5 separate regions of the Homo sapiens genome follow, and regions 1, 2, 3 and 4 are each linked to region 5. Evidence: promoter capture Hi-C in 16 types of primary human blood cells and fetal thymus (Javierre and others, 2016). All regions are on one chromosome and are shown on one strand. Each heading gives the region's core, a stretch centred on a gene start or on the middle of the fragment in contact. The rest is flanking DNA. Distances are from core to core; before and after follow the strand shown.

What was found. Contacts are between HindIII fragments. The CHiCAGO score rates a contact against its expected background, and 5 or more counts as called.
Region 1: the fragment with the promoter of RAB11A here is called in contact with the fragment with the promoter of PDCD7 in region 5 in 2 of 17 cell types (fetal thymus and total B cells); the score reaches 8.2 in fetal thymus.
Region 2: a contact is called between the fragment with the promoter of ZNF609 here and the fragment with the promoter of PDCD7 in region 5, in 1 of 17 cell types (neutrophils). The highest score is 5.4, in neutrophils.
Region 3: a contact is called between the fragment with the promoter of DENND4A here and the fragment with the promoter of PDCD7 in region 5, in 1 of 17 cell types (fetal thymus). The highest score is 8.7, in fetal thymus.
Region 4: a contact is called between the fragment with the promoter of SNX22 here and the fragment with the promoter of PDCD7 in region 5, in 10 of 17 cell types (total CD8 T cells, naive CD8 T cells, naive CD4 T cells and 7 more). The highest score is 12.0, in total CD8 T cells.

Annotation. Positions count from the first base shown.
Region 1 is chr15:65,868,199-65,870,898 of GRCh38, reverse strand. It overlaps RAB11A (RAB11A, member RAS oncogene family), which reads right to left and starts at 1,408. Exons shown (of 5, transcript NM_004663.5): 1 at 1,274-1,408. The coding sequence starts at 1,313. TRQ-CTG1-4 (tRNA-Gln (anticodon CTG) 1-4) reads left to right here and starts at 1,766; the gene lies at 1,766-1,837. RefSeq lists an enhancer at 1,535-1,594. The HindIII fragment of the contact is 828 bases long and covers 731-1,558 here.
Region 2 is chr15:64,459,225-64,461,924 of GRCh38, reverse strand. ZNF609 (zinc finger protein 609) reads right to left here and starts at 1,347. Exons shown (of 10, transcript NM_015042.2): 1 at 1,087-1,347. It overlaps LOC105370861 (a long non-coding RNA gene), which reads left to right and starts at 1,338. Exons shown (of 3, transcript XR_932367.3): 1 at 1,338-1,426. RefSeq lists silencers at 1,016-1,115, 1,176-1,295 and an enhancer at 1,756-1,825. The HindIII fragment of the contact is 12,937 bases long and covers 1-2,700 here.
Region 3 is chr15:65,790,855-65,793,554 of GRCh38, reverse strand. It overlaps DENND4A (DENN domain containing 4A), which reads left to right and starts at 1,262. Exons shown (of 33, transcript NM_001320835.1): 1 at 1,262-1,545. LOC105370866 (a long non-coding RNA gene) reads right to left here and starts at 1,082. Exons shown (of 3, transcript XR_932372.2): 1 at 783-1,082. RefSeq lists enhancers at 566-1,185, 409-1,374 and a silencer at 1,376-1,705. The HindIII fragment of the contact is 1,569 bases long and covers 622-2,190 here.
Region 4 is chr15:64,150,364-64,153,063 of GRCh38, reverse strand. SNX22 (sorting nexin 22) reads right to left here and starts at 1,333. Exons shown (of 7, transcript NM_024798.3): 1 at 1,214-1,333; 2 at 738-821; 3 at 322-426. The coding sequence starts at 1,288. RefSeq lists silencers at 628-1,007, 1,208-1,647 and an enhancer at 2,565-2,674. The HindIII fragment of the contact is 12,291 bases long and covers 1-2,700 here.
Region 5 is chr15:65,132,545-65,135,244 of GRCh38, reverse strand. It overlaps PDCD7 (programmed cell death 7), which reads left to right and starts at 1,437. Exons shown (of 5, transcript NM_005707.2): 1 at 1,437-2,333. The coding sequence starts at 1,464. RefSeq lists an enhancer at 1,152-1,251 and silencers at 1,542-1,751, 1,812-2,211. The HindIII fragment of the contact is 3,462 bases long and covers 685-2,700 here.

The DNA.
Region 1 (2,700 bases), core at 159-2,658, 740 kb before region 5:
TACCCTTTATCTTCGTTGATTAAAAAAAAAAACCGGATTCCTTCCGGACTCAACCAATAAGCAATTCTTTCTAACCAACCCTGACCCTCCAATATGTTCTGTCCAAGGGCACTACATGTTTCCGTATCTTATAATAAATATTTAATGTAACCAAAAGAGCACACAACTTCCTCCCACCCCCAACCTTTTGGGAAAGGTATGTGGCTAACTAGGGCTCTTCCCTTCCTGTTGGATCCTCCCAGCGTTGCAGCAGGAAGCAACCAGTTCATAGAGATAAAGCAAGCTAGTATTTGTGCAGCGCACAACCTTTCCTGCTCAGGAACCAGGCCTTCAGGTCTGGCAAGGATAACAGCCACCACCCATCCGCAACCTCATCTCGCGAACCGAGTAAAGAGTTATCCCGGGTTGGGTGCCACTGAGTAGGGAGGGCAAGAAAAGAAAAGGCTAGGTGGGAAGTAATGTCAGCCTGCCGGGTCACTGCGACAAGTGCGCGAGTGGGTGATGGGCGATCCCTCTTACCCTCCCTCCCACCACCCAGGTCGCAACGGAGACAAGGGAGCTCTAAACACGATTTGGGGAGGGAAGGTAGAGAGAGTTGCCAAATGGGGAGTGGGAGAGGGAGCGGTCAGAGAAGGTTAAGGACCGCGAGAACCGCGGGGCGGAGGGTGGGGGCGGAGGCCCTTGGCCCGCTCAGATTTTACGGGGTCCTGGACCCGGGATGGGAGAAGCTTAGAGGGGCGGCCGTCCAAGTGGAGGGGAGATACAGAAGAGACGCTCGCTCGAGGGGGGAAAGAGGGCAGATAAGAAAAAGACCTGTAATGGGAGTCTGCACCGAAGGCAAGGCCAAGAGGGAAGCGAAGAACCCGTCAGAGGGGCTTCGGGAGAGGACGCGAGCTGGGAAGGGTGTACGCCGAGGGGGAGGGGGCGCTACACCCGAAAAGAGAGATGGTGGGAGGAGCGGCGGGGCCGTAGAACCCGGGGAAAGGAATTCGACGATGTGGGAGAAGGCAGTCCGCCAGGGGAAGGACACGCAGGGAGGGGCTCTGAGGCCAGCGAAGGCCTATGGAGAGGTCGCTCAGAGAGCGGCATGTGATGGGGACCCCTGTCTGAGCGGGGGAGAAGAGGCTGAGCTGGGTAGGAGACGGAACCGCACAAAAAGGAAGGGCTGAGGGAGGCCTATATCAGTGCAGGGGTGGCCGGCACGAGGGTCCACCGGGAGTGGCCCGGGTCCCCGAACGAGGACTGTGTAGAGTGCGAGAGCCCATGGCCTCACCTTTAAAGAGGTAGTCGTACTCGTCGTCGCGGGTGCCCATTGCGCGGCCGAGGAGCGAAAGGGCGGGAGCAGCAGTGGTATCTGTGGGACCAGGGGGCGTCGCTGCAGGGGTAACCCGAGCGCCGAGCTTCAACTGCCGGACTGGGTGAAGAGCCCCTCCCTGCCGCTGCGCCATTTCCGGCAGGCCCCAGCCTTTAAGGGGAAGTACTTCCGGGGGCGGCGCCCCGCCCCTGAGCCCAACAAGGGCGGTGTGCGCGAGAGTCGAGATGCGTGGGGCTTCAAGCTTTAGTCGCTAAAGGAGGCTCAAAGGGGAAACTGAGTCCTGGAACTCCTAGCTACCATAGTCTTAGTGGCCGCTTGCTCATTTCTCGAGCTACCGTGCCGGAAGCGGCTCGCTGGAACCAGGCGGGACCGCCTGTGAGTGGTGGGTTTGTGGATGGGGGCGGGGTTCTCTGAGGATTAGACAGCCGAAGGCAGCTACACATGCGTGGCGGTTCCATGGTGTAATGGTTAGCACTCTGGACTCTGAATCCAGCGATCCGAGTTCAAATCTCGGTGGAACCTGCATTGGTTTTTGTTTTTTTAATCTTGACAACATCTTTAATTCACTTTTTTGGTCACTAAGTAATTGAACAACTATGACACATCTTAAGATGGAGATGTAAAATTTAATCCTTGCCTATGAAGACCTCACAAATTTCCCACTGCATTTCAGGTGCTATCTGCTACCTGGCGGGGGGTTGTCTTAATGAGCTTCTTCACTGCCTTTTTTTTAACCCTGGGCTTTCAAGCCTTGATTCAAAAGCTTCAGTGAAACTTGAAAATTCCTTTTGCTGGAATTTTCTACCTCCAGCTTCATGCACGGGTAGGCGCTTGTCACTCACTCCTCTCCGGAAATCTCGCAATCTATCTCATTTTCATTTAGAGTACTTCGCCCACCCTCCTCATCAAGATTCATCAAGAACTTGAGTCCTATTTGTAGGCCTCTAATCTAAGTCCGTTTACATAAGTATTTCATTTAACATGCCAAGCAAAGGATGGTAATTTCCATTTTAGCGGAAGTTTGGATACTAAGACTCAAGTGATTTGCCAGATATCATGTCGCAGGGCCTCCCTGTATTTGAAGAGAATTTTGTCATTCCAGAAAAGCCTTTATCCAATTATTGTCACACCTCCTACCTCCTATATGCAAACTCTCGATTTAGACTTGTGGGCAAGTATGCCTATAACAAGCAGAATAATGCCCCCTGCCAATGATGTCCACTTCCCAATTCCTGGAGACTGAATAGGTTAGGTTACATGGCAAAGGGGAATTGAGGTTACAGATGAAATTAAGGTTGCTTATCAGCTGACATTAAATTAGGGATATTATCCTGGATTAGTTGGGTGGGCCCAGTGTTGTCATAAGGTCCTTAAAAGTAGAAAAT
Region 2 (2,700 bases), core at 98-2,597, 670 kb after region 5:
CAGCCTAAACCAGCACTCCCTCCCCCAAGACAAAGCAGCAGGGGTGAAATTAACTCAAGGCTGCAGAGCAAAGCCTAATACAGAAAAGGGAGGCCTGTAGGGGCTTGGGGACTCTCCTCAACCCCTTAGGCTCTGGACACATGGCTGGAAACAGACAGGCTTTCTTCCCTATCTTTCTCACTCTCATTTAGGTAGGGAGCTGTTTCTTAGAGAATTTAATCATCCGTGATTTGTTCAGAAATATTCCCCCTGAAGGGCTCTGATCTCTCCACCCTGTGTGAGCCTAATTCCTCGAAGCTGAAATGACTGTTTGCTGCTGCCTGTTTCACAAACACACATTAATTGGTCAGATGTGTCTCCTCCTCCTCAACCCCAGAGGGAGGAAGGAGAATCTGAGCAAAGCACAGAGATGATCCAACCGTAATTACACATAAAGGGAAAAGAGGGCAGCATGGGTTTTCCAAACAGGATAGGGTCACAAACCCTCCCGGGGGTACAAGGATAGCAGTTGAGGTCCAGGCCCAGGGATCCCTCCATCTTGAAGAAAAGGACAGGAGTAAATGTGACCTGAAGACTGTTAGGGGCACACACCCACAACCTACTTACTGCAGGATCCCAGCCACCTTGCTCCCCACTCCTAGGTCACGCACACGTCCTGCTTCCGACCCTATGCTCTGAACAACCACCACCGCCCCCGCCCCCCCTCCCCCGCCAACTCCCTGACTGGCCCCAGTCGCCCCGAGCGCCCTCAACATACCCAGACTCGCCTCAGAAACTCTCTGGCCTGCTCCCATAACCTAGCCAGACCCTAATCCCCTCCCGGGCACCCCTACCCTCAGCCTGAACCGGCCGTGGCCACGCTTTGAACTTCACCCCGCGCCCCTCGACGCCCCCTCCCCCACCCACGCAACGACCCCCCCTACACACCTTCCCCTCGCTCCGCCCCAGCCCCCCCAACCCCCACTTCCTCCGTCAGGCAGCGCCGCCGCCCCCGGCCCCCATCAGATCCCCTCAGCCCCGCGCCCCATCGGTGCCGCCGCCTCTTTCCTCCCCCAGTCCCGGCTCCACACAAAGCTCCGGACTCACCGCGCGGCCGGTCCCGGGAGCCGCCACCTCCGCCCGCCCGGGGCCCCGGGCCGTAGAGCCGCCGCTGCTACGGGGCCCAGGCCGCCATCCGTTCCCGCGGCCCCTCCCCCCCACCCCACCCCGGCTCCGGCTCCGGCTCCGGCTCTGGCTCTCTGCCCCCTCCCCGCGCCTCTCCGCCCCGCCCGGCCGGTGCCGCTGTGTCCGGGGCCGCGGGTCCCTCAGCCGCCGCCACCGCCGCCGCCGCCGCGATCCGGGACAACCAGAGTCACCCGGAAGACGCGGACACTGGACTGCCAGGCCCTCGGATCCGGATTCCGCGCTTGTGTGGAGTCTGGAGCCGGTGAGCGCAGGGGAAACCCGGAACCTGGATGAAGGAGCGAAATCCTGGGTCTCGGAATGCGCGCTCACCCGGAGCCCAGATTAGGGAGTCTTAGCTCAGGGAATGCTGGAAAACCCGGCGTGCCGGTTAGAACCAAGATAAACTCAAAGAAACCTGGATTAGAGAGCTCGAACCTAACGCTGTCCCCTCGTGGGCAGTAGAACTCTCGCTGGATCAGACTTCCTCATAGAGAGGTCTCTGGGGGGAGTATTGCACCTTATAACACAGAAGACACCTCTTCTGTAGTTGTCCTTCAACCACAGAGAGGAAAGGGCCGTAGGGGATCTGAACATGGGCATCCACAAAGAACAGAAGAGCAATCACAGCTCCTGATGGTTTCATCCATTTTACCCCTTAGTTCAGCAAAGTACCAACCTCCTAATTTTTTATCCTTTGTTCTCCAGCTTTCTCTTTTAGGATTACCACTTGCTTTTCTCCCCAAAGCACCCATTTCTAATCCCTCTATATATCCCTTTTCCCCTCACCATCCTCTATCACTAAATCTTGTTGCCTTTTATTATCTAAAAACCTTATTCTGTCCTTCTCCAACCCACCATTCTAAGGATTGTAGCTTTTATTTTTCCTTATCTGCTATTCATCTCTGATTGCCCAGCATACTATCTAGTGCACAGTAGGCATTCAGTCCATGTTTAAGTGAGCCCTCCCACCCAGCTTTCACTTGTGAAACATCTATTCATGACGACCTCCTAAGACTTCCATCTCATTCCATAGCAAACAAATTTACCTTAATTCTCAAGGCCTCCCACATCCTAGCCCCTATTATGTCCTTCCTGTGTCCTTGACCATTTTATTTTGCTTTGCATTTATCTTACCTTTTTTCCCTTATCCTGGGGCATCCTTCAACAGTGCCACTCAAGATAGCATGTGACTTGGAGATAAAGTGAGGTCATAAAAAGGTGGGGGGAGGGGTTGATAGCTAAAGATAAAAGTAAACCTTTCTGGTCTAGGAAAAATAATCTCTCTTTGGTCCACCAATAGTCATGTTGTTAGACAGTACAGGGGCAGAACTGATCCCAGGTGACAGCGAACTTCCAATGTATACTAGACAAAGTTACAAGTGAGGATTCAGCTACTTAGCAGGTGGAGACAGAGAAGGGTTTAGTGTTTTAGACTTAGGCATGATTTAATTAAGGATTAAACATTCCAGTAGTCATCTCCCACTGAAGGAGCATGACTCTGCCATTGGAGAGAACTAGACTGCAAAAATAGGGAAC
Region 3 (2,700 bases), core at 13-2,512, 660 kb before region 5:
CCGGCTCTGGGGCTCAAGCGATCCTCCCACCTCAGCCTCTCAAGTAGCTGGGACCACAGGCGCACGCCACCACGCCCGGCTAATTTTTTGTATTTTTGGTGGAGACAGGGTTCTCGCCATTTTGCCAGGCTAGTCTTGAACTTCTGAGCTCAAGCTGACCCTCTTGCCTCGGCCTCCCTAAGCGTTGGGATTACAGGCATGAGCAAAGGCGCCTGGCCTCAGTTATTTTTCTAACCTTTATAGCATGTTTCCCCTTAAAATGTGCTTAAGTACTTTTTTATTGTCCCTCTTCTCCCACTAAACTGCAGTTTCCTGAAGGCAAAGGTTTTCTGTTTCCCTCACCACTGTGCACCCTCTGTATGGATGTTTGTTGACTGAATGAATGAATACAATGAAAGAACTGGAGGTAGGAAATAAAGTTGTAAACTTGGTTAGTAAAAGGCTATGCAATTTAGGAAAAGTTGACTTTAAAGCAGAGGGATTTTGGGGGTCCTGTTTCTTCTTTCATTTGTCCATGGAATAATGTCTAACATTTATTGAGTACTTTCAAGCACTATACTAAGTACTTCACAGGTACTATAGAATTTAACTCCCGAGCAACCCCATGGGGGTAATCAAGCTTTATTAACCTCATCTGTCAACAGCCATCAATGGTGGAGAGCCACAGTCAGGTTTAAGTAGGCCGTATCCAATTAATCCAAAGTAATCGACACCCCGTCAGTCAACAATAGCTGTTTCATCAACGTACTTTTCGGAGAAACCCCCTGAATTCCCCGCTTTACCTTTCTATCTTGGGACCGAAACCTACTCGGCGGTTGCTAACCCTTAAGGGAGTTTCCTGGAGAATGTGAGCACCCTTGGTGGAGGAGCAGCAGCTGCTCAGATCTAGCAAGTCTGAGACGAACCGAGCAAGGCAATCTCAGGACTCCCAGAGTGCCGGGGAGGAAGGAAGAAACAGGTCAGTTGGCGCGAACTGGATTCTTGTGCCTCTGGGTGACGAAAGGTGAAGGGATTGTACGCTTCGCCCACGCCAGCCTGGGGCTCGGGATCTCCTGACCCGACGGGGAACCACGGTGCGTTTCCCCAACTACACCGCACGTCACGGACTAAGGCGACTTAGTCCCGCCCACCTTCACCGCCCCATTATCAGTTTGGCGCTAGGACCCCACGACCCTCAACTCGGCCCTCTCCTCCCACTCGGGCCAGATCCGGCCTTCGATTGGTGCTCGCGGGCGTGATTCCCGCCCCCGCCCCTTCCGTCATTGCCAAGATGGCGCCGGTCGCGGTGGCCGCGGAGGCTAGAGTCGGAGAAAGAGGCGGAGGCAGTGGCGGCCGCGAGGGGAGGGGGAGTCCCGTCTGACTGAGACGGCAGGCCTGGGCGGGCGGGCGGGGGTGCCGCGAAGGGCGGAGCGCCGGGCTGGGGATGAGCTAAGCGGGCTCAGAGCGCCGCGGCATTCAGCCCCTCGTGTTCCGCTACCGCGCGTGCGGGATTCCGGCGCCGCTCTCCGAGCTCGATCCGCTGCTCGCACGGGAGCCAGCTGGGTGGTGAGTGCGGGGGCGGCGACCCGGGCAGCGGTGGCAGGTGGAGCTGTCACGGCCCGGAGAGGTGACAGCCGGGGGCGCGGGAGCGGGGCGGGTGGGTTCGGGGAGGAGGCACGGATGGCCGAGATCTCCGCCCGAGAGCTCCTGAGATCCGGGAGGTGCTCCGCGGCTCGGTCCGCCCCGGGATGGCGCGGCGGTGCTGAGAGTAGCACCCGCGCCTCTGCGTCGGACGCGTGGGGGGCTCCTGTGTTTTCATTCCAGATTTTCTATTCCAGGCTGGCCTGGGGCTGTTGTTATTTGGGAGTGGGGGCGGGGAGGGGGAGGTCCTGGATCTGGGATTTTGACAAGCCCGTTACGTAAGTCGGAGGTGGCTTCCCGGAATCCCACCTGCTCGGTATCTGAGACAGGCGGCGGGGGGAGCCCGGGGTGCCTGCAGGCCCACTTTTCCTCCCAGGGTCTGTTCAGCCTTCCCCGGCCCGCGGGCACGGGTTCTGCGTGAGCGCGGCCAGCGTCCAAGTTGACCAGTTTTTTTTCTAGTCTTTTTGGGGGGGTGTGTGGTGGGGGAAGGGAACTGTTCCTGGTTACCACCATTCCCTTTGAAGTTTATTGTTTTCTGGAGGTGGGGGGCAGGAAAAACAGTAAAAAGCTTGTGACCTAAAATTGGGTCGCAGCGACAGCTTTTCATTATCGTGCTTTTAAATGACAGATGTGCTGGAAGATTGTTGTTGTTGTTCCAATGTGCTTTTAATTCAAACGTATGGTTACGCCTAGAACCGTAGAGAGAGGTTTTTGTCTTATAGGACAGTTATTTCTTGTTTGCAACAGCAGGACAGGCATCAGTCAACAGGCATGTATTTATTTGAGGAGAAAACGCGTGTCAGCCAGCTAGAGACCCGTGAGGGCAGAAATTGTATTACTCTGTGAATATGTTATTCTTTAAAATGTATTATACGTTAATGAAAAGAATAGCCCGAATGTAAAAGAAGTCTTAGAAGATTACAAGCTGTTATTTGGTGTGTATATAGTCTCCTTCTATTTTCTGTTTACCCTAGTATACCTCTTCTCTCCTTGGGGGAGGAGGTGGAGACACCTGTAAACAGCGTAGCCCCGGTTACGCTAATCTATTGTAGTACATTTGGGATTATTTTAAGAAGTATT
Region 4 (2,700 bases), core at 84-2,583, 980 kb after region 5:
GACGCGGCATAGCTTTGCTGTTGGGGGAAGGACCCTCACCCTACATGCCATCAGGAGGGCAGCACAGGACCTCACCATGGAGGGGACAGGACCTGGGTTTCATGGAGCTGGGACTACCTGTGTCCGTTACCTCTTTCAGTCCTTTCAACAAGCCAGAGGGGGGTGTTTGGACCTATATTAGACTCAGAAAATTGATGCTTGAGGTGGTGAATAACATCCCCAAGTTGTGGGTTCCCTCCCTGCCATGCCCCCACACCTCTCTGTCTGGGCCACACCCCTGGCACAGAAGGCCGGGGGGCAACCAACTGTGCTCTCGCATACCTGGATGTAAGCCTCCAAGCCCTGCCGGCGCTGTTCCAACCCTCTGGTCCTCCAGTTGGGCAGGCGTTTCGAGGGGAAGTCGGGCACTTTGTACAGCTTCTTGATCTACTGGAGGTTTACCGCGTGCGATCACAGCATCCCGACTGAGCCCTCAAGCCCTCTTCGCCCCAGCCAGAAGCCCTCCCGCGCCCCCGCCTTCGGGCTCTACTGGGACAGACCCTGGTGAGTGGTGGACCGGCCGAGGGCGAGGAAGGCCCCAACCCACCCACAGAGGCCCGGGGGCTGACCGGCTGCGCAGGGACTGAGGCAGTAATGGGGGTGGCGGAGGCTGGGGCTCGCCCGCCCGCCTCACAGGGCCTGGGCGGGGGCTGGACAGAGGCTGGGCCGGGGCCGGTGGGAGGTCGGCGCCGCCTCACCCGCTTGTGCAGCGCGTGGAACTCGCTGTAGCGCCTTGGCACCGTGTGTCTGCGCCCGCTGCACAGCACCTCCACTCGGAACACCTGGCGGCGCGGGCGGGCAGCGGGTCTGCGCGTGAGGCCCCGCGGGAGGACGCCGCAGCACCTGCGCCTGGCGACGTGCCCACCCTCCCGCTCTCAAAGGCACAAAGCGGCCTTGCGGCGCCGCGGCTGCCCGGGGACTCTCCGCTCCCGCACACCTGGGAGAACCGGCTGGCGGACCTGCCCCTCGGAGCCCTGGGGTCCCTCAAGAGCTCGAACCATGGTCCGCGAGGCTGGCAAATCCAAGCGGCCCCCAAACCCTCGACAAGGTTTCCCCCGACGGTCCAGCCCGCAGCGCTCGTTCACCCAGGCCCGGGCCCCGGGTCCCCACTGAGCGCAGCGCGGGGAAATCCTGCGGGTCCCGGCGCCCCTCCCCATCCAGGGGCCGCGCTCACCATGTGGCTTTTCTCCGGGCTCTGCCTGGGCCCCTCGGCCTCGGGCCCCACCGACGGGATGTGAACTTCCAGCATCCGCGCCCCGGCCCCAGCTGCTCCGCGCGCTCGGCTCGGAGCCCTAACTCTCCCGGAGCGGACTGAGGACCCCGGGGCGGCCGGCTCCGCCCCCTCGGTCCGCAGGCCCCACCCCAGGCCCCGCCCCCAGGCGACCCCGCCCCGGGCGTTCCCTTGCGCCGCGGGTCCTGAGCCTAGAAGATTAGGCGGGACCTGGACGCCGCCCCCGAAGTCTAGTGCGCCCACAGCGCGGGGCAGTGGAGTCAACCGTTTGTCAAACATTGACGGAGCACTCACTGATGCCAGGAACTGGCGAGCGAAAATGTCACCCAACCTGAGTTAAGCGCCTACCAAGGACGGCCTGTGGCTCCAGGCGCGGACGGAGGCGGGGCCCGGGCCTCAGCGCCGGTCCTGGGGCCAACCAGGGACCTGTCTTGGGTTCCTCAGTCCCTTCCCGAGCCTTTCCCTCCTTTCAGCCTGGTCCCTGAAATTGTGATCTGGATTCCCCGGCTGAGGCCACACCTGAGCAAGGCTTGGACCCAGTCCAGCTTTGATGCCCCTTTCCCCAGCATCCACAGGCCCCCCCATTCATTCATTGTTTTCATCCATCCATTCACTCATATCTTCCAACCCTAAGGGGCTCCAGGCTGTTTGTGGGGAAGAGGCAGTTTAGGGACCTAGACTCCGATTTGGACGTCAGACTGCCTGGATTTCAGGAGCTCCGTAGACCTTTGCTCATCTGCAAAATAGGGATAACGTGGCTCCTTCAGGCAAGTGTATAAAGTGAGATGATTTGGCCGGGCGCGGTGGCTCACGCCTGTAATCCCAGCACTTTGGGAGGCCGAGGTAGGCGGATCACCTGAGGTCAGGAGTTCGAGACCAGCCTGACCAACATGGTGAAACCCCGTACCTACTAAAAATACAAAAATCAACCAGGTGTGGTGGCACATGCCTGTAATCCCAGCTACTCAGGAGGCTGAGGCGGGAGAATCACTTGAACCTGAGAGGCGGAGGTTGCAGTGAGCCGAGATCAAACCATTGCACTCCAGACTGGGCAACAGCAAGACTCTGTCTTAAAAAAAAAAAAAAGTGAGATGATTCATGTTAGGCCCTTAACAGAAGCATTGAGCAGCAGCTTGACTGTGGGCTTCTCCTGGATGACTAGGATAAGTGGGCACAGGGCAGTGGATGGGAAGAGAGACTTTGGGGGGTGGCACCGGGTTGCTCTTGTCCACCCCTCCGGGCAGGTTCTTCCTGGATATGTGGCAGGATTTTGATCCAGAACTCTCTCAGGCCATGTGCTGGAAAGGACCTCTGCTCCCACCTCTCAGCCCTGCACCCTTCAGCTGTCGGAGAGCTGCTATCAGCAGCACCATGGCAGGTCCTCTACTCCACTGACTTCCCCCACAAAGGCCCCGTGACATGCAGAGAGG
Region 5 (2,700 bases), core at 188-2,687:
ATGAACCCAGGAGGCAGAGCTTACAATGAGCCAAGATCACGCCACTGCACTCCAGCCTGGGCGACACAGGGAGACTCTGTCTCATAAAAAAAAAAAAAGAAAGAAAGTGGCCAGGTGTGGTGGCTCACACCTGTAACCCCAGCACTTTGGGAGGCCAAGGTGGACGGATCACCTGATGTAAGGAGTTTACGACCAGCCTAGCCAGCATTGTGAAACCCCCTCTCTACTAAAAACACAAAAATTAGCCAGGCGTGGCAGCAGGGGTCTATAATCCCAGCAACTGACTAGGGAGGCTGAGGCACCAAGAATAACTGGAACCTGGGATGCAGTGGTTGCAGTGAGTGGAGAGTGCGTCATTGCACTCCAGCCTGGGTGACAGAGGGACTCTGTCTCAAAAAAAGTGGGGGGTGCACGGGACTTGGTTGACCTGGATGGCATGCAAGGGGTGGGGAGGGACCAAGGAGGTGCTGGGTCTATGGGACTTGCTCCTATGTATCCATCAGTGATCTGGTTGGCGCCATGGAGGCTGGGGCGAAGGCGGAGGGGGGGTGGGGGGTAGCGGGGAGCTAGGTTGTAAATTGACAGTTGTCCCCAGGCAATCCCCTGGTATGGGAAAGTTCCAGAGGTCCCTGGTTTAAGCTTCGGTCCTTGGAACTAATAAGCGAACACATAATTAGATAAGCTTACAGTGTAGAGAGTGTCTGGTGGAGAGAAGGTAAAGGTTAATTGGATTTTTTTTTTTGACAGGTGTCATTCTGTCGCCCAGGGTGGAGTGCAGTGGCGTTATCGTGGCTCATTGCAGTCTTTACCTCCCAGGGCTCAGGTGATCCTCCCACCTCAGCCTCCCCAATGGCTGGGACTACAGGCCGATCTCGCCTGCCTCGGCCTCCCAAAGTGCTGGGATTACAGACGTGAGCCACAGCACCCACCCTATAATTGCATTCCTAAAGAGCTAAATAGGAGGTGGGGTGAAAGGAGAAAAGTAAAAATAATTCATTTTTCTAAGAAAATGGGTAGTTGGTCACACTCCTATTTACTAGGGCCTTTGCACATGTTCTCATCTGCACTGTGCTTCCCTCTCTTTTTCTATTTAACTATTTATCTTCCAGATCTCAGCTGCAGCCGCAGTTTCTTAGGATAACCTTCTCCAACTTCTCGAAGATACTCACCATGATTAATTGATTAGTGTGTTATACTAGGCAGATAGTTCCACGAAGAGAAGCTCTGTATCTCTCAGTCTCACTGTATGCGGAGTGGGTAGCTCTGCACCTAGGATGCTCAATAAGAACGGTATTTATGAACTGAACGACAGAAGGTTGAACGACTGCCCACTTATGCACTGAGCCTTCCGGAGGGACGAGTCTACAGGGGTCGCGCGTCGTAACGACGTCACTTCCGTCGGAAGGTTCTCATGAGGAGCCACTCAGATTCCTGTCACTTCTCAAAGCATCTCCGTCGTGAACATGGCCCTGCCACCATTCTTCGGCCAGGGTCGCCCAGGCCCACCGCCCCCGCAGCCGCCGCCTCCTGCTCCTTTCGGCTGTCCGCCACCGCCGCTGCCCTCCCCGGCTTTCCCGCCGCCTCTCCCCCAGCGGCCCGGCCCTTTTCCGGGGGCCTCCGCCCCCTTCCTTCAGCCTCCGCTGGCTCTGCAGCCCCGAGCCTCCGCGGAGGCCTCCCGCGGCGGAGGCGGCGCTGGCGCCTTCTACCCGGTGCCACCACCGCCGCTGCCTCCTCCGCCGCCCCAGTGTCGGCCCTTCCCGGGGACCGACGCCGGCGAGCGGCCGCGGCCACCGCCTCCCGGCCCGGGGCCGCCCTGGAGCCCGCGGTGGCCTGAGGCGCCGCCGCCGCCGGCCGACGTGCTCGGGGATGCGGCCCTCCAACGCCTGCGCGACCGGCAGTGGCTGGAGGCGGTGTTCGGGACCCCGCGGCGGGCAGGCTGTCCGGTGCCCCAGCGCACGCATGCCGGGCCCAGCCTTGGCGAAGTGCGCGCGCGATTGCTCCGGGCTCTGCGCCTGGTGCGGCGGCTGCGCGGCCTGAGCCAGGCCCTGCGCGAGGCCGAAGCCGACGGCGCGGCCTGGGTCCTGCTGTACTCCCAGACCGCGCCGCTGCGCGCGGAACTGGCCGAGCGGCTACAGCCGTTGACCCAGGCTGCCTATGTGGGCGAGGCGCGGAGGAGGCTGGAGAGGGTCCGGCGCCGCCGGCTGCGGCTTCGCGAGAGGGCCCGGGAACGCGAGGCCGAGCGGGAGGCAGAGGCCGCGCGGGCAGTGGAACGCGAGCAGGAGATTGACCGCTGGAGGGTGAAGTGTGTGCAGGAGGTGGAGGAGAAGAAGCGGGTGAGAGCAGCGGCCGCTCATGGGGGTAGGAGTGGTGGTGGTTGGAACCTGGAGCAGCAGGAGGCTTTAAACTTCCATTTCCCAGGGCTAAGCCTCTGTTTTACGCGCAAAATGAAGCGATAGCTAACCTTCCCAGCTCATACCACCATGTTAATTTTGTGTTAATGATGTGTGGTACACAAAAGTTCCAGGTGCACTGTAAAATCCTGTAAACACAAAGTATAGGATTACACGGTGGCACTGCACGAATGACAGGTCTCCCCTATCCTGCTCCAACATTGTCCACTTACTCTCAAAACCAGTAAGTGTCTAGTTCCTTGTGTCTTGTACTGCCCTAGGTGGTTTTAAGAATACAAAATACAGGCCG